7 separate regions of the Homo sapiens genome follow, and all the other regions are linked to region 1. Evidence: promoter capture Hi-C in 16 types of primary human blood cells and fetal thymus (Javierre and others, 2016). All regions are on one chromosome and are shown on one strand. Each heading gives the region's core, a stretch centred on a gene start or on the middle of the fragment in contact. The rest is flanking DNA. Distances are from core to core; before and after follow the strand shown.

Region 1 (3,216 bases), core at 717-3,216:
AAATGTATTTTCTACTCCTCTTGTGTTCTCTCTTCTTTTCTCTCTTCTTTCTTTTTTTATTTTTATTTTTGATATCTTTTTTATTTTTTTATTTTTATTTTTTAGTATTTATTGATCATTCTTGGGTATTTCTCGGAGCGGGGGATTTGGCAGGGTCATAGGACAATAGTGGAGGGAAGGTCAGCAGATAAACATGTGAACAAGGGTCTCTGGTTTTCCTAGGCAGAGGACCCTGCGGCCTTCCGCAGTGTTTGTGTCCCTGGGTACTTGAGATTAGGGAGTGGTGATGACTCTTAACGAGCATGCTGCCTTCAAGCATCTGTTTAACAAAGCACATCTTGCACCGCCCTTAATCCATTTAACCCTGAGTGGACACAGCACATGTTTCAGAGAGCACGGGGTTGGGGGTAAGGTTATAGATTAACAGCATCCCAAGGCAGAATAATTTTTCTTAGTACAGAACAAAATGGAGTCTCCTATGTCTACTTCTTTCTACACAGACACAGTAACAATCTGATCTCTCTTTCCTTTCCCCACATTTCCCCCTTTTCTATTCGACAAAACCGCCATCGTCATCATGGCCCGTTCTCAATGAGCTGTTGGGTACACCTCCTAGACAGGGTGGCGGCTGGGCAGAGGGGCCCCTCACTTCCCAGACGGGGTGGCCGGGCAGAGGTGACTCCACCTCCCGGACGGGGTGGCGGCCGGGCGGGGTCTGCCCCCCACCTCCCTCCGGGACGGGGCGGCTGACCGGATGGGGGCTGCCCCCCACGTCCCTCCCGGACGGGGCAGCTGGCCGGGCGGGGGCTTTTCTCTCTTCTTTCATCTTTCTTCCTTCTACTCTCTTCTTCTTTCTTCTTCCTTCTTCTTTCTTCTCCTTTTAATTTCCTCTTCCTCCTTCCTCCTTCCTTCTTTCTTCTTCTTCTGACAAGGTGTCACTCTGCTGCCCACGCTGGAGTGCAGTGGTGCAATCATAGCTCACTGCATCCTTGAACTCCTGGCTCAAGCAATCCTCTTGCTTTGGCCTCCCAAAGTGTTGGAATTACACGCGTGAGCCACCATGCCTAGCCTTAGCAGTCCATTTCTAACCTCTTTACAACAATCTCCTTGCCATTCTCCCAGCTAACTTCTACACATTATTCAGATTCAGCATTCAGCTTAGATATTACCTAATTTAGAAGCTTCCCCTGATTGAATTGAGTGCCCTTTCTTTGTATCACTTTGTCCTTTCTCCTGTATCCCTCAATGCTTTTCTCCTGTACTTATCATATTATACCGCAATTTTGTTGTTAACTTATTCTGTCTTTTGCACTGGATTATAAAGCCCTTTAGTGGAGGAATTATGTCGGTCTCAATGCTGAATATTTTAAGTCTACTGTAGTACTCGGTACATAGTAGTTGCTCAACGAATATTTGTTAAATAAATGAGTCTTAAGTCTGGAAGAACTTGCAAAGTTCTTTACCAGGTTGCTGGTAAAGCAACCTGACCTTTCTTTCAGGGAACTGTCAGCAACACAAGCCATGAATACCAACGCAAAACAGACTCTCACTGTAGATCACACGGGAAAAAATAAAATAAAAAGGTAAAATCCTTAACGGTGGTAGTATTTAAATGACCATATACTGCTTAGTAAGAAATCCTGGGGTCATTTTCAAGGTCCCCCATTTCCTACTTTTGTTAAGCTGGGTCAAGTCTCTTTAAACTTTCTCCGTTTTCTTGTCCATAAAAAGAGTATACTAGGTAAGTCTTCTGTCTACCTCGGGACTTCTGTAAGTATCATAAGAGATGTTTTATATGACAACACTTCACAAACGTTTAGTAAAACGCTGCAAAATGTTTGTAGCTGGCTATAAACAAGATCATGCAGATTGGGTTCCTGAGCCAACAAACCCAAAGAAGACCGGTTGCTAGGAAGAGAAAGCCGAGCGTTGCTCCGTGACGTCATCACTCCGCGCCACCCGCGACAGTTTCCCAGCAGGGCTCACAGCAGCGTTCCGCGTCATGGGGATTTGGCAGCGTCTGCTGCTTTTTGGTGGGGTGTCGCTCCGGGCTGGTGGCGGGGCCACTGCCCCGCTTGGGGGAAGCCGAGCGATGGTTTGTGGGCGCCAGGTCCGTGGTGCTGCAGGGCAGGGGGAAGCGGGCTGACAGATGCTGGGCTGCAGGGCCGCAGATGCCCTGGCATTGCTTCTTGCCAAAGACTCGCCTCAGTTCCTGAGACCCCCAGTGTGCTGGACGTGCCTACTTTTCAGGCAGGCCCAGGCTGAGGCGTGGCGGGACTTGAAACACAGTTAGAACGTAGATGTGGTATTCTACATTGCTTTCTTGGCTTTGGGTTATTTATCAAATAGATTGAAGAAAAGCAAAACACGTGGAAGCCTTATCTCCGTAAAGAGGCAGCGTTTTTACATTTTTAAACGTTCAGCGTATCCTGCTAGAAAAATTTCAATTTAAGCAATGTGTCTTTACAATTGTTATCAGTAGTAGTAGGTAAATGTCTCCATAGTGAAGATGAGCAGAATTAGAAAAGAAAGCCCTCTTAATTGCAAACCCCAGATTGTTTTTGCTTTTACAGTGTGATGATGGAGATGGCTTATTTAAAACGGCTTTTTATTATTATTATTTTTTAAAGTTGTCTGGCGCCGGGAGTGAGACCCTAAAACAAAGAAGAACACAAATCATGTCCCGAGGACTTCCAAAGCAGAAACCGATAGAAGGTGTTAAACAAGTTATAGTTGTGGCTTCTGGAAAGGGTGGAGTCGGAAAATCTACTACAGCAGGTATTATAGGATATTAATTCTATTCCTGATTAAGAACTTATGCCAACAGACAAGTGCACACTATTGAAATTATAGTTTTGTGTTTTAAAAATTTATTTGTGAAGTTCCTAACATGTGATTCCTTAGTTTCAGGAGTTGGTAGCGGGTAGACGCTTAGATTTTGGAGTTAGACAAAAGTAGGTACTAGCCGGGTCTCCCACCCCTTAACTCAGGAAAAAGTGGTCAGATTGTACAGCAAATCTTCAGTTCACTTAACTGTAAAATGGAGATAACTTCTTTCATAAGATGGTTATTCAAATTGCACAAGCTAACCACTTAGCTTAGTGTTTACTAGTGTTCAATAATTGGTTGCTGTTATTTTTAAAACATCTAGTAACTTTTTTTTTTTGTTTTTTTTTTTTTTTTTGAGACGGAATCTCGCTCTGTCACCCAGGCTGT
Region 2 (3,216 bases), core at 518-3,017, 950 kb before region 1:
GATGAAAGTGCACTTTGATGGAGGCCGATGGGTCTGAAGAGAGGAAGGATTTGGCTTACCAGTTAGAATACTTTTCCTTCCTTCTATAGGGAGGTATGAATGATAGATGGAGAGAAAGACTAGGCTGAATTTCTTCCAAAGGGAAACAAGTGGTAGGGATCGGGGAGGACTTAATGCGTCCGCCTAAAAATAGTTCATTTATTCAGCACTTATAATGGGACCTGTACTAAACATGTCACATGTGCAAACACTCATTTATCATAATGCCATATAAGTGTCATTGCCAACATGTTACTGCTTTAAAAACTGAGACAATGCAAGCCATTTAACTTTTCTTCCTTAACCTCCCTCCTACTTAAGCATATTCTATCCATTGTCTCAATTAACAGGCAGTGTTGTTTAATGATTAAAAGCATAGGCCTTAGCCAGGCGTGGTGGCATGTGCCTGTAATCCCAGCTACTCTGGAGGCTGAGTCACAAGAATAATTTGAATCCGGCAGATGGAGGTTACAGTGAGCTGAGCTCACACCACTGCACTCCAACCTGGGCAACAGAGGGAGACACTGTCTCAAAAAAAAAGCACAGGCTTGGAAGTCAGATTTTACTTTGAATGCCAACTCTTATAACTACTATATGTTGTGTCACTTTGGGCATATTAATCTTACTAAACCTCAGTTTCTAAATCACACAGTAAGCACTATTGAAGTGTGAGTTGCTACAGTGTATTACAACAATTCTGTTTATTTGCCCTAAGACTGCTTATCCTAACATCATGTTTTAAATTGACCCTTTAATTCTTCGTTTTTCTTTTTGTGCCCTCTTTACTAAAAAAAAAGTATATTTAAGCTTCATTGTCTCTACTTCGTATTTCCTATTTATTTCTTGTAATCAGGCTTCTGTCCCTACCACCAGTCTCAAGTTAGCTAGTTCATAGTTTATATCCAGGGAGCTAAATATCCATGTCCAAAGGCCTTTTCTAATTTTTCATCTGCTGTGACTTCTGCAATTACCACTTAGAATTTCTCTGCAATATTTTATTTAATATTGTACTTCCTCCTACTTCTGATGATTCTCTCTTCTTTAATGCTTCTTACTTCTTCTTACCCCTGAAACTTAGCATTTTTCAGTGTTGTCTTAACAGTCATCATTCTTTATTATTTGGAGAGCTTCTTCTCTCCTGTAATCTTTCTGAATGATTTACAGACCTGTATTTTTGAGCCCCCGGACTTTTATATACAGATAAGACCTGGGTCTTGCTAGCACATTGAGTCTAACATGTTTAAGATAAAAATAGTATTTTTCCCAGAATTTTTTGTTTGATTGTTTTTTGTGGGGCTTTTTTGTGTTTTTACCTGTTTGCCTTTTCTTTCCAAGAGACTTCTTACTTCCAAGCTGTCTTGGAGAGTCATTTTCATACTCCTCCATTTTCCAGTTATATGTCAAGTCACCTGCCTCTAAGACTGACTTATTGTCAACCTTTCCTTCCTGTTTCTAGTGTGCCTATTTTACCAAACTCAAATTTTCCCTAGGCTTAGACAATTAGAATGTTGTTCTAATATTCTTATTTGGGATGATTCTTCCAAAAGTACAGTTTTGACCATATTGCTTTCTTCCTCAGGAATCCCCCAGTGGCTTCTCATTGCCTGTTGAACGAAGTTGAAGCTCTTCATTAGGGCATTTAAGACCTTCACCTCTCTTCATGGCTTTATCTACTCCAGTTTCTGTACTTTTTATCCAGTGTTTGTTCATTTATTTAAGAAATACTATGTATTCTGTACTGTTTTGTTACTAAAGATAGAGTAGTGAAGCAAAGTATCTGCCTTCTTGGAATTTACATTAAGAGAGAACACAGAAGATAAACAACAAATGTAATATGCCATCACGTAGTAAAATGTATTATAATGCTAAATAAAACAGAATATGGCCGGGCGCAGTGGGTCACGCCTGTAATCCCAACACTTTGGGAGAACAGGTGGGTGGATCACCGGGGTCAGCAGTTCGAGACCAGCCTGGCCAACATGGTGAAACCCCATCTTTACTAAAAATACAAAAAAATTAGCCAGGTGTGGTGGCGCGCGCCTATAGTCCCAGCTGCTTGAAAGGCTCGCTTGAGCCCGGGAGGCAGAGGTGGCAGTGAGCCGGGATCATGCCACTGCACTCCAGCATGGGCAACAGAGTGAGACTCCATCCCAAATAAATAAATGTATACATAAATACATACATGCATACATACAACAGAATAAAAGGAGATGGATAAGGGTTGGAGTATATACAAGTTAGGTTTTAGGCTAAACTTCTGTATCTCATAGACCCAGAAAGACAGTGGCTCAAACAAGGCAGATGTTTACTGTTCTGTAAAATCCATTGTCTAGATTTTAGGGTAAGAGTTGGCAAAAAATGGCCTGTAAGTCACGTTCTGGCTTGTTGCCTGTTTGGTAAATAGTTACATTGGAATGCAGCCATGCCCATTTGCTACTGATCTGACTGCTTTCACGCTACAGTGGCAGAGTTGAGTAGCTGCAACAGATACCATATAGTTTGAAAAGCATAAAATGCTATCTGGCCCTTTATACAGATGGCCCTCTGTTTTCGAGATAGAGTTGTGATTTACAAAACCGTCTAAGGACTTGAGTTCCTTCCTCTCATTATCGTGTAACACTTAGCATTATTGTTTGCATCCACATGGTTGAAGCTTGCTCTTAAAGGAGAAAAGTGGAAGTTGAGAGCAGGGAAGTTTGACATGTTGTTTTTACTTACATCCCATTGAACAGTCATGTAGCCCCACCTAGCTGCAGCAAAAGTTTGGCTATGTGCCCAGCTGAAACTCAGGGTTGAGGGTTTGCAGGGATGAGGCAACATATACCCAATTATTACTCCGACAGGGTGTAAAGATAGTATTTTGAGCAGAATAGTCATGAAAAACTTAGGAGATTTCAGCAGAGATTTTGAATGAATGAAAAGAAGTCATGTAAATCTCTAAGAATGTTTTAGGAAAAGGAAATTGCAAGTAAATTTTCTGTTAATGGATTGTTTCCTATTTTTAACTTTCTCCATCTGTACCTTTAAGAGCTAACCTGTATGAAAGTGTCTTGCACATAAATGGCCAAGTATTTCTTTGTTTATGCTGTTCACTAAAATATTCTTGATAAAATTCTGTCCATCTTTTAATTCTCAGCTGTTACTCTTTTTCATGAATTCTCAGGTCATCTTTCTTGC
Region 3 (3,216 bases), core at 324-2,823, 910 kb after region 1:
CATAGTGCTACTTCCTAAACTGTGAATTAGCAGGCTGAACCTTTTAATAGTTTAAGTCTTTCTTGTCAGTGGGGGAATCCAAGTCCATGGCGAGAGCTGAGACTTAGTTTCATAGGCCATTGTCTTTTCTCCTAAGTGTATTATACATTTACTCAATTTTCATTGTAAACCCTTTCAACATTCTCTCACCCAATTTGGGTAGGTGGAATCCTGTACCCCCCACCAGGGCTATAGCTAATATCTTCATTGCACAGTTATTGTTCATTGAGACATGTACCTCCATCCATGGTATAAACTGTTTTTATTATCTGTCTCACCTCCATTTTAACAGTAATTCTGTTGACATTGCTTCTAGACTGGAGTTTGGCTAATAAGACACTGGACACTGTGTTATCTGTGCTAAGGAAGCACAGATAACGCAGCGTGTTAAGCATTCTGGGTCAGGATTTTTGTGCTGGCACAATTGTGAGTAAACCAAGAAAAATAGTCCCTATGAGATTTCTTTCAGACTTCAGCACACAGAAACCTAGTGGATTGTTCCTTAAGATAAAAGAGAGGTTTGAGAATTTACTTTTTGTCATAGTTTGGGTTCCCAGGAATCGGATTCTGAGGCTCTGAGATCTACATGCTGGAGGTTTATTGGGGTGAGTTCTTGGGAAAAGCACCTCTGAGAGGTGAGGGAAGTAAATCAACCAGAGAGAGGAGTTGAACTGCAGCTGTGACAGAGATGGCAGTATTCCTACCCAGAACTCTAAAGTGGCTCCCCTTTTCCCCCAGGCTTTATACCTCCTCCCATTTAGCAGACATGGGATGTGGAAAGCTCCCAGGGAAGGGCATGACCTTGGGTGAGGCAGCTGAGGGCAAGTCCCAGGGAGGGTCTCAGCTGAGAGCAATAAGCAGTCAACACTGCTTAGCAGGTGGGGTAAATAAGTGTCTTGATCATAAGGTGGGGTAGGAGGAGGGCAAGTATAAATGCTGTCCACCGCATTCAATAGAAGTGTTTTCTCTATTATTACTAAAGAATGGCTTGACCCAGAAAAGATCATGGTCTTTAGCCACAGAACTTAATTCTAGGAGAGGCGATATTACAGCAGACTGATCCCTGTAATGCAAATGGCAATGCCCCTCTTTGCTGAGAGGCATTGTGGAGAATGCATGAAAACATGGCAGTGATGTTGGCAGGGAGATGGCAACGAGGTTCTCTGCACCAACTGTCTCCTGCAGCTGGGAAAAGACACACAGCCTGGCTGCCAACTGTTGGGCTCATTGTGCTCTGGCTGAATTTAGTTCCCTCTTATGTCAGCTTGCAATTCTATGTTGAAGAAAATCGGTCTGGTCTGCCACCATCACCATCTCTTAGCAACTAAGAGAGATTGAAACAACAGCTGGGTAATTTGATATTGGGAACTTAAAGGTCGTGAAAATAGAATATAATGGCTGTTTGTATTAAAGGAAAAAAAAAGAGAAAATGATGTAATCCTAATGCTTAGAAATGTTTGGAATGCCACATGGGTTACAAAGAGTGAAAATCTAGTTTAAACTGGTTGGATTCTTTCTCTCTCAGAATGATTAAAGTTGAGCCCAGAAGCTCACCCAAACACACATATTTGCCTAAATATAAATCCCTGTGGAATGTTGGAGCTATAATGTGAAAAACAGTTTCTGTGTTTTTGTATTTTCTCTAAGACTGACCTACAGCTTTCTTATCACAAGTTTTGAAGCAATACTTATAACATAGATGATAATTTAGAGTTATTTTTTACTTTGCTTTTTGTGGGCAATGGGGATGGGGACTGCAGTGAAGATGGGAGAGAATGAGGTGTGGCCCTCAGACATAGTGCTGTGCAGGAAGCCTACTACTTCAGAGGCTGCCCACAGCCTCACATACAACAGGTAATAATAGAATTACATGTTTGAAAACTAGAAAATGAGAAGTAGAAGCCAGATGAAATTGTTAAAACAAGTTTTTCTTTTTTCCCTAGGGCCAGTGAGGAGACCATCTGTTTTTCAAATTAGAAAAGCCAGAAAATATAATGTTTGCTCTCAGAATGAGTCAAATGTCATACTCTAATGAAAATTCCAAAGCAGAAAGAGAGAAAGGAAGAAGAGCTTGAAATGCCAAATTAGTGGGGTGAGGTGCTTGCTGCTTGCATTCCTGCAGATCCAAGCATTTTGCAACTCTAGTAAACCTGCCAGGACAAGGTTCATTTGAAGGGGTGTGGATTACCGGGAGGTGCGGGGGGACTGACATTCTAGTGCTTTAGATGGTAGGTAACTGCCTGGTCTTGTTTCTCAGAATAACTTGTTCATCCACCACATATGTGGCTTTCATCCCAGCACATTGGGCAGGACACCACTGTTTTCTTCGTTTGGTTAATAGTTACACTTCCTTGACACCTCATACAGCTGGGTCATGGATCTGCTGCTGTTCTCAATGTGAGCATCACTGTCTTTTTTTCTTTTTCTTTTTCTTTTTTTGGGACAGGATCTCTGTCACCCAGGCTGGAGTGCGGTGGCACGATCTCAGCTCACTGCAGCCTCCACCTCCTGGGTTCAAGCGATTCTCCTGCCTCAGCCTCTCAAGTAGCTGGGATTACAGGCATGCACCACCGTGCCTGGCTAATTTTTGTATTTTTGGTAGAAACGGGGTTTCACTATGTTGGCCAGGCTGGTCTCAAACTCCTGATCTCAGGTGATCCACCCGCCTCGGCCTCCCAAAGTGCTGGGATTACAGGTGTGAGCCACGGTGCCCAGCCCACTGTCTTTTTTCATCAATGCTAAGAGAATTTAATTCTTTCCACATGAAGCGATTCTACTTCCTCAACACGTGTTTCGTTTTGTGACACAACAACTTGGAGGAGGTGAAATTCATTAACAAGGAATAAATATCTTCTCTTTATGGAGCCACTTCCTTAACCCCTCAAATCTTCCTAGACCACTTCCATCCAACGTAGAATAAGTGAACCATATGAAATTGCTGTTTTTGTGGGTCAAAGGCAATTGAATGGTAGTCTCACATGGTTCAACATCTGTATACAAGCAAGTTCTCTGATGAAAAAGCTGAGTGACTGCGAGTACCATTCTTAGAATTCTTTAGGAGAGAAGAAAGATTTCAAGGTAAACAATCTGACAAACTTATTTGTAATCAAACTAAATTCCAGGTGGGGCTGGCTTATAGTTCACACACATTAAAGAAATAGGGATTGAATCTTGCAG
Region 4 (3,216 bases), core at 507-3,006, 690 kb after region 1:
AAAGTATGATGCAGCTACAGCTGGGATTCGGTCTCTTTTAGGGATGGGATTCAGGGCAAAAGGGAAACCATTCTGTGAAGATTGGCCCTAGAATGGCACCTTTGTCTTAGTTCCTCTTGATTTACTTTGGGATCCTTCAAGTTTCTAGCTTGGCTGGGTTGCTTTTGGAGCCAAAGATAGTTCCAATTCAATTGTTAGCATTAATGAGTTCTTACTAGCATTTTGTGAGGAGTACTGCAAATCATACCACAAAGGGTATGAAACCCTAGCTTGTGGGGCAGGGAGGGTGAGCTAGATTGTTTCTTCTTGGATTAATACCAGACATATTTCCCTTGGTGGAGATCCATTCTTCTCTGTGTGGGAATGTTTAACGTTCACACTGTTAGGTGAGGGTCTCGTTCAGATAATTTTTTTAAAATGCACATTTTAAAACTTATCTTAAAAAAATCCACAAACCCAACAAAATATTTCTTTTTTCATGATGACTTATTCAGAAATTTGAAAGGCCAAAAGCCTTTTTGATGTATGTGAGAGCTTTCTCTGTCATATGGGGTCTACCAGTCATTTCAGCAAAGAGTTAAGTGAGGCCAAGGAGGCTTCCCTGGCAGCTTGGAAGCTTTGTGCAGCAGCCAAGCCGCGGGCTGAGAGAGGTGGATACTCATTTGTTTGTATATAAAACTTTCATTCCCAAAGTCTTAGATATCACATACAAGGAAAGATGATTGTGAAAATCAGTGATAAACTCAAGTATTTCTCGCCTGTTATGATTGCATTTGTTGTATCCGATTCTGCCTGACAGTATTTGCCACTTGATTGTCTAAACAGAGTTTTAACTGGTAGCAGGGTGAGCATTAATTATTCACATCTAGCAGCTGGCATAAATATGATTGTGTAGGCCCATGTATGTTAATGAGTCTTACAATAAAGCCTTTCGCTTGGAGATCTTCAGCCCTCCCTTCTTTTTGTACCATTTGTGAACTTCATTCTGGAATTGTGTGGCTTGGTAAGGTATAATGTTCTTTGCTTCTGAGGAACTGTGCTGAGGGCTTGTGCAGAGAGTGGCCCATCTAGAAATGTCTCTCAGGACCCTGAAGGCTCCCTTGTTTCCTTTTCCTGTTTCCAGTCGGGCTACAGCAACTGGGTCTGGATATAGCAACAGCACCCCCTAGTGTATTATAGGGTGAGCATGGGTTCCTGGTTAACTCAGTAAGGTGAGGTGTTCTGGCTTCATAGAGTGGAGTGTGAGAAACTGGCAACTTGGCATTTATTAAACAATATAGTTGAGGCTAAATATGCAACAGCAGCATGTCTTCCAGGTTTTGACAGCTGAGAAAGGAAGATAAAGACAGCAGGAAGATAGGGTTTTAGATTACTTTACAAGGATATGAAGGCTAAGGAGAGCCACAGGAGGGAATCAAGAGGTCACTGGGGAAGGGAGCTGTTCCAATGAATAGTTTGCTATTCTTCCAAAGAATCCAAATCTTGGCCATATGTGCAGAAAGGCCTGGCCACAAAGGCCTTCCATTGTTGGCTGAGACTGGAGACCTGCGATGGGGGTTCAAAGCCTTTTGTTAGATGTGAAACTGAAATTCCAAACACTCCAAGCAGTGACTTAAAGGCTACGAAAGTATAAATGACAGGTAGATATTTACCTCAGAACATAGTTTTGATTAAGGAAACTAGACCTTAAGAGAACAAAATGGGGGTGGGGATGGACTATAGAGAGAAGAAAAGAGGGATGCTTTCTTCATTTTGTTCATTTAACGAATATTTGCTGTTGAGCTGCTATTCAGTGCCAGCTTCTATTCTACATACTGGAAATACAGATGTGAATAAAACAGAGTTTCTCTCCTCATGCAGCTTACATTCTTTACAGTTGCCAATAAGCGGGTCACTACAGATCAGTTCTTATGTTTGTATTTTTGAAGTGTGATTTATTTACAGGCAGAATGTGATTTGAGGACATGGAAAGTACCCATCGTTCAAAATTGTTCCCCACCAACCAACCAGTTTTTTTCTGAAATTTCTCAACCAAAACCCCTTGTTAGTTGTTTTCTGAGAGGAGTAGTAATGAATCCAGTTGCTTTGACCTACACTTACTTCTAGTGAAAATGAATGACCTGATGAGACCTAGAGGGATGGGACACTGGGGGGTGGAATTACAATATTGGGACTAGCAAGCTGTAGCCTTGGTGAGTTTGTTTCAGGACCAAGTTTTCCTTATCTATAGAAGTAGCTGTATTCCTGTCAGGTCCCTTCTAGCTCTTATTCTATTTTGTGTGGCAGATAGCATCCAAGAAGATGTAGGACCGGGTGCGGTGGCTCACACCTGTAATCCCAGCACTTTGGGAGGCCGAGGCAGGCGGATCATCTGGGGTCAGGAGTTTGAGACCAGCCTGACCAACATGGAGAAACCCCGTCTCTACTACAAACACAAAATTAGCCGGGCGTGGTGGTGCATGCTTGTAATCCCAGCTACTTGGGAGGCTGAGACAGGGGAATTGCTTGAACTCGGGAGGCGGAAGTTGCAGTGAGCCAAGATTGTGCCATCGCACTCCAGCCTGGGTAACAAGAGCGAAACTCCATCTCAAAAAAAAAAAAAAAAAAAGAAGGTGTGTAGAGCATGGGGCACCCCTGGGACCCCTGGAAAATTATTTGGGGGTAGGAGTAGGACCAGATTAGACACTGAAAAAAAACATGGAGAAGGAACATGATTTGACAGTCAAATTTAGGCTATTTAAAAAAATATTTCTAGGGCATTTATTCTTGGGTTCAATTTCTGACTATAAATTATCTGGAAGGGAGGGTGATACTATGAATATGGTTTTTGCAGATTTTTTGGGAAAGCCCAGTTGGTTTTACTTTTGTGGGTCAAATTAGTTTTGAAGATTATCTATAAAGCTTTCAGTGATAGACCTGACCCCCAAGCCACAGCTGCTTAAATAGCTGTGTGCTGTGGATTTTCTTGTTGTGCAGTGTTTCCTTTTAACTTTCCTGTTCAGGGCAGAAACAGAGTAATGCAGGCCCATATTCTTTGAATCCTAGAGAGCAAGTGACCTACTTACTATTGTACCTGAAATATTCAACTAGAGTATATTTTAGGAAATACTTTTTCAGCTTTAAACATGACTTTGCTTCTGTGAATAAACACTTCAATCGAGAGACACTGACAGGTATTCTGGGCTGTTCTCCTGACCCGTTGTGTAACTTTGGATA
Region 5 (3,216 bases), core at 529-3,028, 670 kb after region 1:
TTTTAATTTTTAGTAGAGATGGGGTTTCACCATGATGGCCAGGCTGGTCTCGAACTCCTGACCTCAAGCCATCCGCCCACCTCGGCCTCCCAAAGTGTTGGGATTACAGGCATGAGCAACCACACCCAGCCTGAAAGCCAACTTGTACAGGTCTCTTCAGTTGGTGAAGGCATTTGGGCTTCACCCTAAAACAGAGCGGAGTAACAGAAGGGTTTTTAGCAAGGGGTGTGACATGCTAAGATATATATGTTATAAAGATTACTGGGCTTAATGTAAAGAATGGATTGGAAGACAGGTAAGGGCGCTGTTATTGCAATTTGGGGAAATGAGGATTTTGGCCTGAACTAGGCTAGTGAGTGGAGAAAAGTAGATGGATTCAAGAGAGGGAATTGGCAGGATGTGAGGAAGTTTGGGTGAGGAGGAGCAAAGGGTGAAGCATGATTCCCAGGTCTTTGATTTGGGCAGTGATGGAGTGTGGTGCCATCAATAAGACAGGGACCATAGAAAGAAATGGGTGAGGAAAGGTGGTAGAGAAAACAGTGGGTTCAGTTTTCTACAGTTGGAGTTTGAGGAGCTTGTGGGACATCCTAGAGATGTGTAGGTGGCAGTTGGATGAATGGACCTGAAGTTCTGAAGAGAGCTATCAATTGAAGTACAAATTTGGGAGTTTATGATGTAGATATGGGAATAGATATGGGAGTAGATGCATTTTTTCAAGGAAATACCAACATTTATTGTCTTGGCAGAAAGGGAGGTACAAAATAAACCTAACTGTGAGTAGCCAGAGAGCTAGAAGGCAAACACAGAGAGGCATACTTGGGGAATAGAGAATTTAAAGACAGAGGGAAAGGTCCACCTTCCTCACCTTTGGGTCATCCAGTCTCTAGGTTCCTAAATAATTCAGTGTGCTTTTGGTCAGTAAGTCCTAGAATAGGGGGGGGAAAAAGCATATCAAACCACTGCTGTGTGAATGCTATAGCCCTAGGTCATTGGTCTGTTTTATTTAAACATATCTAGGTTCTGCTCCCTCTGAGGATTTTACCTAATGTTAAAGAGAATGAGAAGAAATACTCTTTATACATTATAAAACTATGCTAATAGTAACCAGCAGGGAAATTGACCTATAAATACTCTGAGCACATTAAGGTAAGCACATTTTTTTAAAGTTACGTCTTTTGGCTATGGTCTAATGTGATGATTAGTGAAAATGGAATTGAAGAGTGACAGGAAATATTAATGGCAGGCAGCACACAGTCGTTTGGCCTTAGAAAGAACAACGGACTTTATCTGTTCCCAGAGGGAAAATTTGATGAGTAATGACCTTGATACACATTTTAAACACTCTGACAATGAAGTAATAGGTGCTGCTTTTGCTCTTTGACCAGCAGATTCTCCTTTGCTGCAGTTAGGTGTACTACTTAAAGCTTGTTTAGAGGGCCACCTAAGGGTACAGGCAGAAGCATCACAACATCTATATTTCTGTTATAGGCAGTGATGAGTACTATGAGCCTCTTATAAGAGGCTGCAAGGGGTTGCTGTACCATCAGGCCTACTTTCCTTGGAGAGGGAATAAAGCAAGTCCAAGGTGCTCAAGAAGGTACACTTTCCCAAAACATCCCACTCCCCACGTTGCTGATTAAGATCTAATGATTCACATTTAGATGCCCTTCCACCCCCATCCCCATCCTGACAACACAAAATTTGAGTCAAGCCTCAACCTTGCTAAGTAAACAGATTTGTACTTGTTACTCTTAGCAGCACTGGAGTCTAAAGACAGACTATGTGGGAAGGCAGATTCTTAGTTACCTCCTCCCCAAGCTGTTGCAGGAATTTCAGATCCCTGCTTGCCAAAGCACTTTTATGGGGTTAAGAATTTTTTTGTGTGTGTTGGGGATAGGGGAATGTACAGCCTTGAGTGACTCATGCCCTTCTCTGGGCCTCAGTTTTTCCCTGTTAGGAGGGAAAGGAGCTGTATTAGGGGATCCTTGAGTTTCCCTAAGCCTGGCCTGTATCCCCTCACCAACTGGATCCACGAGCCAGAGCCTGCTTTAGCCAGGCCCATTCTCTGGTTGGCTTGGCTGGCTTTAGAGGGCTGCAAATAGGCAAATCACTATTTGTCAGTCTGTAGAGAGGAAGCTTATTTGCAGTGGGAACACCGTAGGAGGAGATTTCTAAGTTGAAAATGCAGGTACTCCTCCTCTGGGGAATGGAAGAAAGACAAAGAGCCCATTAAGGGTTCTAGAAATCAGAATGGTTAGATTCTTCCTGGCCCTGTCAACGTTTGCCTATTACCCTGGCCTCATCGGTTGGCATTTGCTTGTGTGAAAAGGTTCCAGGTTTAGAGAAAGGGTGTCGGAGGCAGACAAACCTAGCTCTGTCACTTGGTTGTTGTGTGATCATGTATGAATTGCTGGAATTTCTGCACCTCATTTTCTTTTTTAAGGATGTTTCATAGGCCTGCAGGAGGACTAAATGAGATACATAATACATGTGAAACAGGAATGCAGAGCCTGGCATGGGAAGGGGTTACCTCCTTCCTCCTGCAGTCCTTCTCTTCACTTTCATCTTTGCTCACATGTTATTCTCCCTACTGGAAACTCACCTTCAGTGCTCTGTGAGGCCCTCCTGTCTGTGCCAGTGCTCAAGTCCTCCTGGTACCCTAGCATGCATTGCCTCACCTCACATTTTAGTAACAGCCTTCTTATATTCTTTCACTGGTTTTGCCCATCTAGATTACTGCTCTCTGAGGGAGGTATCCTGTCAAATACTGGTAATCTTTCTTCAATTCCTGGTAAGGTGTTAGGTACATAGTAGGGGCCTAAGCAATATTTGAATGAATGATTATAGAAAGAACCAGTTACAGAGAGCAAGAGGGGGCAGTATGGGCAGTGGGTAAGGCCTGTATGGATGCTAAAACCAGCCTGCCTGGGTTTGAATTCTGGTGCTGCCAGTTTTTAGCTTTGCAACTTTAAAAGAGTTGCTGAACTTTACCCCTCAGTTTTCTCATCTGTATAGTGGCAGTGGTAAAAATAGTACCTTTCTCCTAGGGTTATTGTGAAGATTGAGTAAGTTAGTATTTACAGTGTTTAGACCAGTGCCTGGCACTTAATGCTATATAAGAACCCACCATTATTATTTTAAAGATCAGACACGCTTGAGTTGAAAGCCTGCTCTACTACTTACTAATGATGTGACTGCAGGCAGAAATTATTCAAC
Region 6 (3,216 bases), core at 276-2,775, 620 kb after region 1:
TCTGGCTCTCATATGCCAGAAACAGAAGTCTAATTTTATGTGATTAGCAATCAATACCCTTTCACGTTCTGCTTCCAAGATGTTCAGTTTAATTCTACTATTAAACACCTCACTACAAATTCAGATTTGTGAGTTAACAGTTAGTCTCCAGGCATGGCTAAATATTAACAGTGGAGCCTTGTTAAGTCAGGAATGTGACAGATCAAGTCTGCAGTTAACACTGTCATTCAAATATGTAATTCTAGTAAATGCCAACTTTGTGCCAAATATGATGCTAGAAATTGGAGATATATTTTTTTAAAAGATGTGATCTCCAAGGTCCTCATAATCTAGAGGGGGAGATGGACCAATAAAGAGAAAATTACAGTTCAGTGTTATTTCCCCGGGGGGTGTGACAGCTCAGAAAAGGTCACCTAATCCAGACTCCAGTAAAAGTGGGAGGACTCTCTTAGAAGGCAAGGTTGCACAAAAAAGTTGCTGTCAGCAATATAGTTAACAAAACCTGATTTGGTCAATTGATTAGGATATGTTGTATTTGAGGCCAACTTCATATATTCCTTTCTACAGAAGCTTCTTATTTTACTTTTTTTTTTTGGTTTTGTTTTGTGTATCCCTAAGCAACATGTTACAGAAGCTTCTTATCTTAGCCATGGTCTGTGGTCACAAATGGTATACTTAACTCACATCAGACTTCCTGCAAACACATGCAACATATGATAACCATGGGCCTTGAAAAGAGAGAGATGGATGGATCCATCACATTTTCACTCTTACTAGAAGAAATAGCTTAGAGCAGATGGCCTTGTGGTGCAGTGTGGATAAGAGCATCTTTTTAAATGAAGAATAAAAGATATTTATTCTAGTGAACAGACAGCTTGGCTTCTCAGTAGAGCATTTAGATACATATTTAATATTCTGACAATTAAAAATTATTTTGCTGCTGTCCCTGACTTCTGTATATGGACAAATTATACCCATAGATCATATACCCACCAGTCCAGGACCCAGAAAAAAATTTGCAACACTTAGAGAAACTTTTTCAAAATAGTTATGTTCCAAAGCAACAGTAATAGATTGTTTAGTGTTTGTGGATGTTTGTCTCATGTTAGGACATTATAAAGGAGAGGATCAGTTGGTGAAGAAGGGTGAATCAGTAGTAATTGTTTGATGACATGTTTGCCGAAAACTTCCCAGAGAGAGTTCTAATATATCATTTAAAGTTTCAATTCAGTAAACATTTATTAAACACCTGCTGTGTGCAAAGACCCTCAGAAAACCAAAAGACAAGTAGCAGTCAGCCTCTAATCTCATACTTCCAATTAGAAGAACAAGATTAATAGAGAAATGACTAGATATGTACGTAAGGTAAGTAGAAAAGTACAAAATGTTTATGTGGATGACACTGTTTATGACAGAATAATAGCTTTAATTTTTCACAATGAACATTTTAATCAAAGTTTAACACATATGTAGAAAAGTGCACAAATTAGAAGTATATAGCTTGATGAATTATTGAAGAATAAACACACCAGTATAACTACCACACAGTTAAATAGATTGAATATCACAATTCCAGAAGCCCACCATATGCCTAGTCATTTTCTACACTCCTTATTAAAAGATAATGGCTATTCTGTTTTCCAACACAGTAGACTAGTTTTGCCTAGTTTTGCACAGTAGACTAGTTTTGGAACTTCATAAAAATGAGGCAGAGTAGACTCTTTTGTGTTTGGCTTCTTTCACTCAACGTTATGTTTGTGTGATTCATCTATGTTGTTGTGGCTCTGAATACATATTTCTTAATTAATTTATTCTCTTGTTGAAGACAAGATATTTGGGTTTTTAGGAACAATGCTTCTATGCATAATCATGTGTAGATACACACGTGGGTTGCTGGATCACAGAGTATGTGTACGTTCAGCTTTAACAGATACTGACAAATAGTTTTCAAAATGGTTGCATCAATTTATACTCTCACTGGAATTGTATGAAAATTAGAATACTCCACATCTCTGCCAACCCTGGGTGCCAGCCTTTTAAGATAGTTTTAATATGCATTTCACTGATGACCAATAACAATGAGACTTTTTCATATGTGTATTGGCCATTTGGATATCTTCTTCTGTAAAGTGCCTGTTCAGGTGTTTTGCCCATTTTTCAGTTGTCTTTTTCTTATTGATTTGCTGGAATTCTTTATATATGAGCCCTTTGTTGGTTATATGTATTGCAAATATCTTCTACTCATGAGTTTACCTTTTCATTTTCTTAATGGTGATGTTTTTGGGATGAACATAAATCCCCAATTTTAGCGTAGCTAATCTTTTCCTTATCAATAGTTAATACTTTTTGCTTCCAGTCTAAGAAAACCTTCTCTACTTCAAAGTCAGTAACATACTTTCTTATGTTATTATTCTCTAGAAGCTTTATTATCTTACCTTTTATATTTAGATACACATTCTATCTGGAAATAATTTTCAGGTATGGCATGAGGTAGAAATTAAGATTTCTGCAAACAGATACAGTTGAGTCAATATTGTTTATTGTTTGTTTGTTTGTTTGTTTGTTTGTTTGGAGATGGAGTCTTGCTCTGTCATGCAGGCTGCAGTGCAGTGGCCCAATCTTGGCTCACTGCAACCTCTGCCTCCCGGGTTCAAGTGATTCTCCTGCCTCAGCCTCCTGAGTAGCTAGGATTACAGTGGTTTTTGTATTTTTAGTAGAAACGGGGTTTCACCATGTTGGCCGGGCTGGTCTTGAACTCCTGACCTCAGGCGATCCGTCCAACTTGGCCTCCCATAGTGCTGGGATTACAGGCATGAGCCACCACGTCTGGCTGCCAATATTGTTTACTGAAGCGATTGCCCTTTCCCCATTGCCCTTCAGTGCTACCTTGTCATAAATCAGGTGCCCTTTTGGTTCTATTAATCTATTTGTCCATCTTTTGTGCCAATACCAGATAGTCTTAATAAATAATGTATAGCTTTTTGACAGGCAAAGGAAAGAGGGAGAGGTAGCCCAGGGAGGTGTAACTACAGCAAGAGAAAGAGTAGATTTCCCCTGCCATACAGTCTCCATCCCACCTCCTTGGCCTCCTCAGGAACCTGCCTCCATCAATGATCTCCCCTCATCCCTGAATCTTCACTCTGTGCTCTACTCTTTGCCATCAACATATAAACATGTCCAAGTTTCTGTAATGAAAAAAACAAAAAAAGGCTCTTT
Region 7 (3,216 bases), core at 225-2,724, 540 kb after region 1:
TACACCAATTTATGATAACATAAGTGTGGATATGTAGTGCAAGTATTTCTGGCAGTATTTTACTATTTGCCATTTCTTTGAATTCTGTGTTGTCCATTTGATCATGATTTATTGCTTTTCAAATTCAGATTGAAATGTAATTAGATGGTTAATTTTTAAAGTATATTTCTGATTTATATATTTTGTTAAGACTTAATTGGAAAGATTATGTCAGTGGCATACATTTTCGCTAATTTAAATTTGGCTTTCTATACAAACTTTTTCTTAGTGTTTATAGCAGCGTACTGAATATTTTGTAAAAGCATAGTACAGATTATTGAAGTTACTCATTTCTGCAGCAGATTAATAGTAAATGTTAAGTATGTGTCAAGGAGGCACTTCTGTAACATAGATAATTGTGTTCTTATGTTAATGGACAGTTGTTACTATTGCAAGACTATAGGTAAATTTATAGGTTTGCCAATTTATGTACACCAAAATTTTGTATACTACAAATTGTGTCAATCCTAGGAGAGGTTTTTTACAGTAGATGCAGTGTTATGATTTCTTGCTCTGTAATGTTTTCCTGTCATCTCAGCTAAAGTGTGGATGGAGTACTCAAGTAAATAGGGCTTAATCTGTGACTTTTAAAGAAGAGAAACCCCAGAGCATAGGAGGGTTGCTTTTTAAAAATAGTAGTAATTTTTGATGTTTAGAATCCTTACAACAAAATATAAGGATATGACAAAAGAGATCTTATGATTGTATCGTAGTCAAAATAAAGGGTACAACTTGCATACATTGTATAACAATTGTTTTGAACTTTTTGGAAATTGTTCTTAGCCTTTGAAAATCTGAGTCAAGGTTTGGGTATTTTCCCTAGAAAAATGCACATGCACAAAATTTTACTGGAGTTTTAACGGTTTCAAATACTTTCTAAAGGCCTGTGGATCCCAGTTTAAGAAACTCCTTGTATAAGATGAGAGGGAGGAGGAAGACACTGAAATTTGGGGAAGCTGGGTAGAAATCCACCCATTCACTTGAATAGTTAGTTGCTTTGCTAGAACTTTCTCCAAGTGACTCCAGGTTTATTTTTTGTTAAGTTGTTAATGGCATTAATAAAATATCTGCCACATATATAATATATGTTGAAATGCTTTTTAGGAAGATGTTATCTTAGAGAATAAAGGTTCCTGAGTCAAGGTTAAAATTAGTTTGCCTGATAAGTATGTACAAAAACCTAGACCACATTTATTTACTCTGTTGTTTTTTATTTCCTCTTTTCACCTAGTGTTAGCATAAAGGGTGTGAGAGAGTCTTCACAATGTAAGTTTTCTGAAGTGTGTTTGGACTTTCAGCCAGCACTTACGGCTTTTATAGGCTTAAAAAAGGGATTAAATAAACCTTTAGAGTGCTGGGTCCCCTGAAGGCTTCTTTCTTACACCAGTGTGTTAAACTATAATGTAATGCTGCTTCTCACTGCCTGATCACTTTATATTGTAGTTTAATTTTGTTTTTCTATGTTATAACCTTTCTGAGGGCAGTTATGGTTATCATTCAACTTTGTATAACCTGCAGTATTGTTTCTCAGTCTTGAGTCGTGTATGGACCTTTTTTAAAGTTAAAATTCTCAGGCTTTTCAGAAATATATCTGTAGCTATTTCCCAAACTTGAGTTATTGGTCTTTGTTTTTACTAGTCTAGCACAGTGGCTATCAACCAGGGTCAGTTTGGCCCTCCAGGAAGCATATGGCAATGTCTAGAGACATTTTTGGGTGTCACAACTGGAAGTAGGAGGTTGCTGCTGGCATCTAGTGGGTAGAAGCCAGGGTTACTGCTAAACATTGAATTGCTAAACTGAATTGCAGAATTCACAGGCCATCTTCCACAACAAAGGATTATACAGCCCAAAGTGCCAATAATCTTGAAGTTGAGAAACCCTGGTGTAGGAGACTATGTCTTGAAAAAAATGTCTATGCAGTTCTAGAAGTCAGTCATACAAGGCATGTTTGTATCTGTTCAATAAGAAAGGTAGGGTTTTCCATATAGGTCATAGCGTTTTCTTCCCCAGCCTCACCGTGATTGGGTAAGAATATATTTTCAGGATTATGTTAACTGTGGGCCAGAGCTACATGCTATTGTCATTTATCATACTCGACTGTTTATCATTCATTATTCTGCTATAAAATGTGTTGCTTCCGTTCCATTTTCATACTAGTTGAGGTTGTCATTATTTCTTACCTGCATTATCACAAATACCTTTTTTAAAGAAATAAAGATTCTATTTTGAGCTAATTGTTGATTCATATGCTATTGTTTTTTTTTTTAAAAAAAAGAGAGACCCCATGTGCTCTTTGCCCATTTTCCCACAATGGTAATATCCTGCAAAACTATAGTACAATATCACAGCCAGGGTGTTGACATTAATATGATCTACAGATCTTATTCAGATTTCCCCAGTTTTACTTGTACTAATTTGTACATGTGTATATTTTGTTCTTTGCAGTTTTTCATGTGTATAGGTTTGTGTGTCCCTCCCATAGTCAAGATGTAAAACAGTTCCATCCACTAGCAAATTAACTTGTTTTGTCTTTTTATAACTACATGCTTTTCCTTCTCCTCACCCATCCCTAACCACTGATAGCCACTACTCTGTTTTTCATTTCTATAATTTTGTCATTTCAAGGATGTTATATAAATGGAATCACAGGGCATATAACTTTCTGGGATTGACTTTCATTTACCATAATGCCCTTGAGATTCAGCCAAGTTGTTGCGTGCATCAACAGTTTGTTCTTTTTATTGCTGAATAATATTCCATAATATGGATACATCAGTGTTTTAACCTGTTGAAGGACATCAGGTCGTTCCAGTTTTTGTCCATCTTGAATAAAGTTGTCATGAACATTCGAATACAGGATAAGAAACTGCCAAACTGTTTTCCAGAATGGGTATACTATTTTATTTATTTATTTATTGAGATGGAGTCTCACTTTGTTGCCCAGGCTACAGTGCAGTGGCGCGATCTCAGCTCACTGCAACCTCTGCCTCCCAGGTTCAAGTAATTCTCTGCCTCAGCCTCCTGAGTATCTGGGATTACAGATGCCCACCACCACACCTGGCTAATTTTTGTATTTTTAGTAGAGACGGGCTTTCACCATCTTGGCCAGGCTGGTCTTGAACTCCTGACCTCGTGATCCACCCGCCTCAGCCTCCCAAAGTGCTGGGATTACAGGCA

The links. Contacts are between HindIII fragments. The CHiCAGO score rates a contact against its expected background, and 5 or more counts as called.
Region 2: a fragment that was not itself captured here is called in contact with the fragment with the promoter of NUBPL in region 1 in 1 of 17 cell types (monocytes); the score reaches 5.0 in monocytes.
Region 3: a contact is called between a fragment that was not itself captured here and the fragment with the promoter of NUBPL in region 1, in 5 of 17 cell types (M1 macrophages, erythroblasts, M0 macrophages and 2 more). The highest score is 6.6, in M1 macrophages.
Region 4: a contact is called between a fragment that was not itself captured here and the fragment with the promoter of NUBPL in region 1, in 16 of 17 cell types (total CD8 T cells, naive CD8 T cells, total CD4 T cells and 13 more). The highest score is 16.1, in total CD8 T cells.
Region 5: a fragment that was not itself captured here is called in contact with the fragment with the promoter of NUBPL in region 1 in 5 of 17 cell types (naive B cells, total CD8 T cells, naive CD8 T cells and 2 more); the score reaches 7.0 in naive B cells.
Region 6: a contact is called between a fragment that was not itself captured here and the fragment with the promoter of NUBPL in region 1, in 1 of 17 cell types (total B cells). The highest score is 7.5, in total B cells.
Region 7: a fragment that was not itself captured here is called in contact with the fragment with the promoter of NUBPL in region 1 in 3 of 17 cell types (naive CD8 T cells, total CD4 T cells and naive CD4 T cells); the score reaches 9.9 in naive CD8 T cells.

What each region holds. Positions count from the first base shown.
Region 1 is chr14:31,559,438-31,562,653 of GRCh38, forward strand. NUBPL (NUBP iron-sulfur cluster assembly factor, mitochondrial) reads left to right here and starts at 1,967. Exons shown (of 11, transcript NM_025152.3): 1 at 1,967-2,110; 2 at 2,631-2,778. The coding sequence starts at 2,003. It overlaps NUBPL-DT (NUBPL divergent transcript), which reads right to left and starts at 1,894. Exons shown (of 3, transcript XR_943720.2): 1 at 1,674-1,894. RefSeq lists enhancers at 1,810-2,209, 2,136-2,691. The HindIII fragment of the contact is 6,263 bases long and covers 1,180-3,216 here.
Region 2 is chr14:30,608,412-30,611,627 of GRCh38, forward strand. All of the region lies in intron 12 of G2E3 (G2/M-phase specific E3 ubiquitin protein ligase), which reads left to right. Among named protein-coding and RNA genes, the nearest start is that of SCFD1, 12 kb to the right of the region's middle. The HindIII fragment of the contact is 1,846 bases long and covers 845-2,690 here.
Region 3 is chr14:32,471,442-32,474,657 of GRCh38, forward strand. All of the region lies in intron 2 of AKAP6 (A-kinase anchoring protein 6), which reads left to right. Among named protein-coding and RNA genes, the nearest start is that of AKAP6, 140 kb to the left of the region's middle. The HindIII fragment of the contact is 4,486 bases long and covers 1-3,216 here.
Region 4 is chr14:32,251,109-32,254,324 of GRCh38, forward strand. No RefSeq gene overlaps it. Among named protein-coding and RNA genes, the nearest start is that of RNU6-8, 49 kb to the left of the region's middle. The HindIII fragment of the contact is 2,285 bases long and covers 615-2,899 here.
Region 5 is chr14:32,229,040-32,232,255 of GRCh38, forward strand. No RefSeq gene overlaps it. Among named protein-coding and RNA genes, the nearest start is that of RNU6-8, 27 kb to the left of the region's middle. The HindIII fragment of the contact is 712 bases long and covers 1,423-2,134 here.
Region 6 is chr14:32,183,176-32,186,391 of GRCh38, forward strand. No RefSeq gene overlaps it. Among named protein-coding and RNA genes, the nearest start is that of RNU6-7, 17 kb to the right of the region's middle. The HindIII fragment of the contact is 1,787 bases long and covers 633-2,419 here.
Region 7 is chr14:32,103,184-32,106,399 of GRCh38, forward strand. All of the region lies in intron 2 of ARHGAP5 (Rho GTPase activating protein 5), which reads left to right. Among named protein-coding and RNA genes, the nearest start is that of ARHGAP5, 27 kb to the left of the region's middle. The HindIII fragment of the contact is 5,331 bases long and covers 1-3,216 here.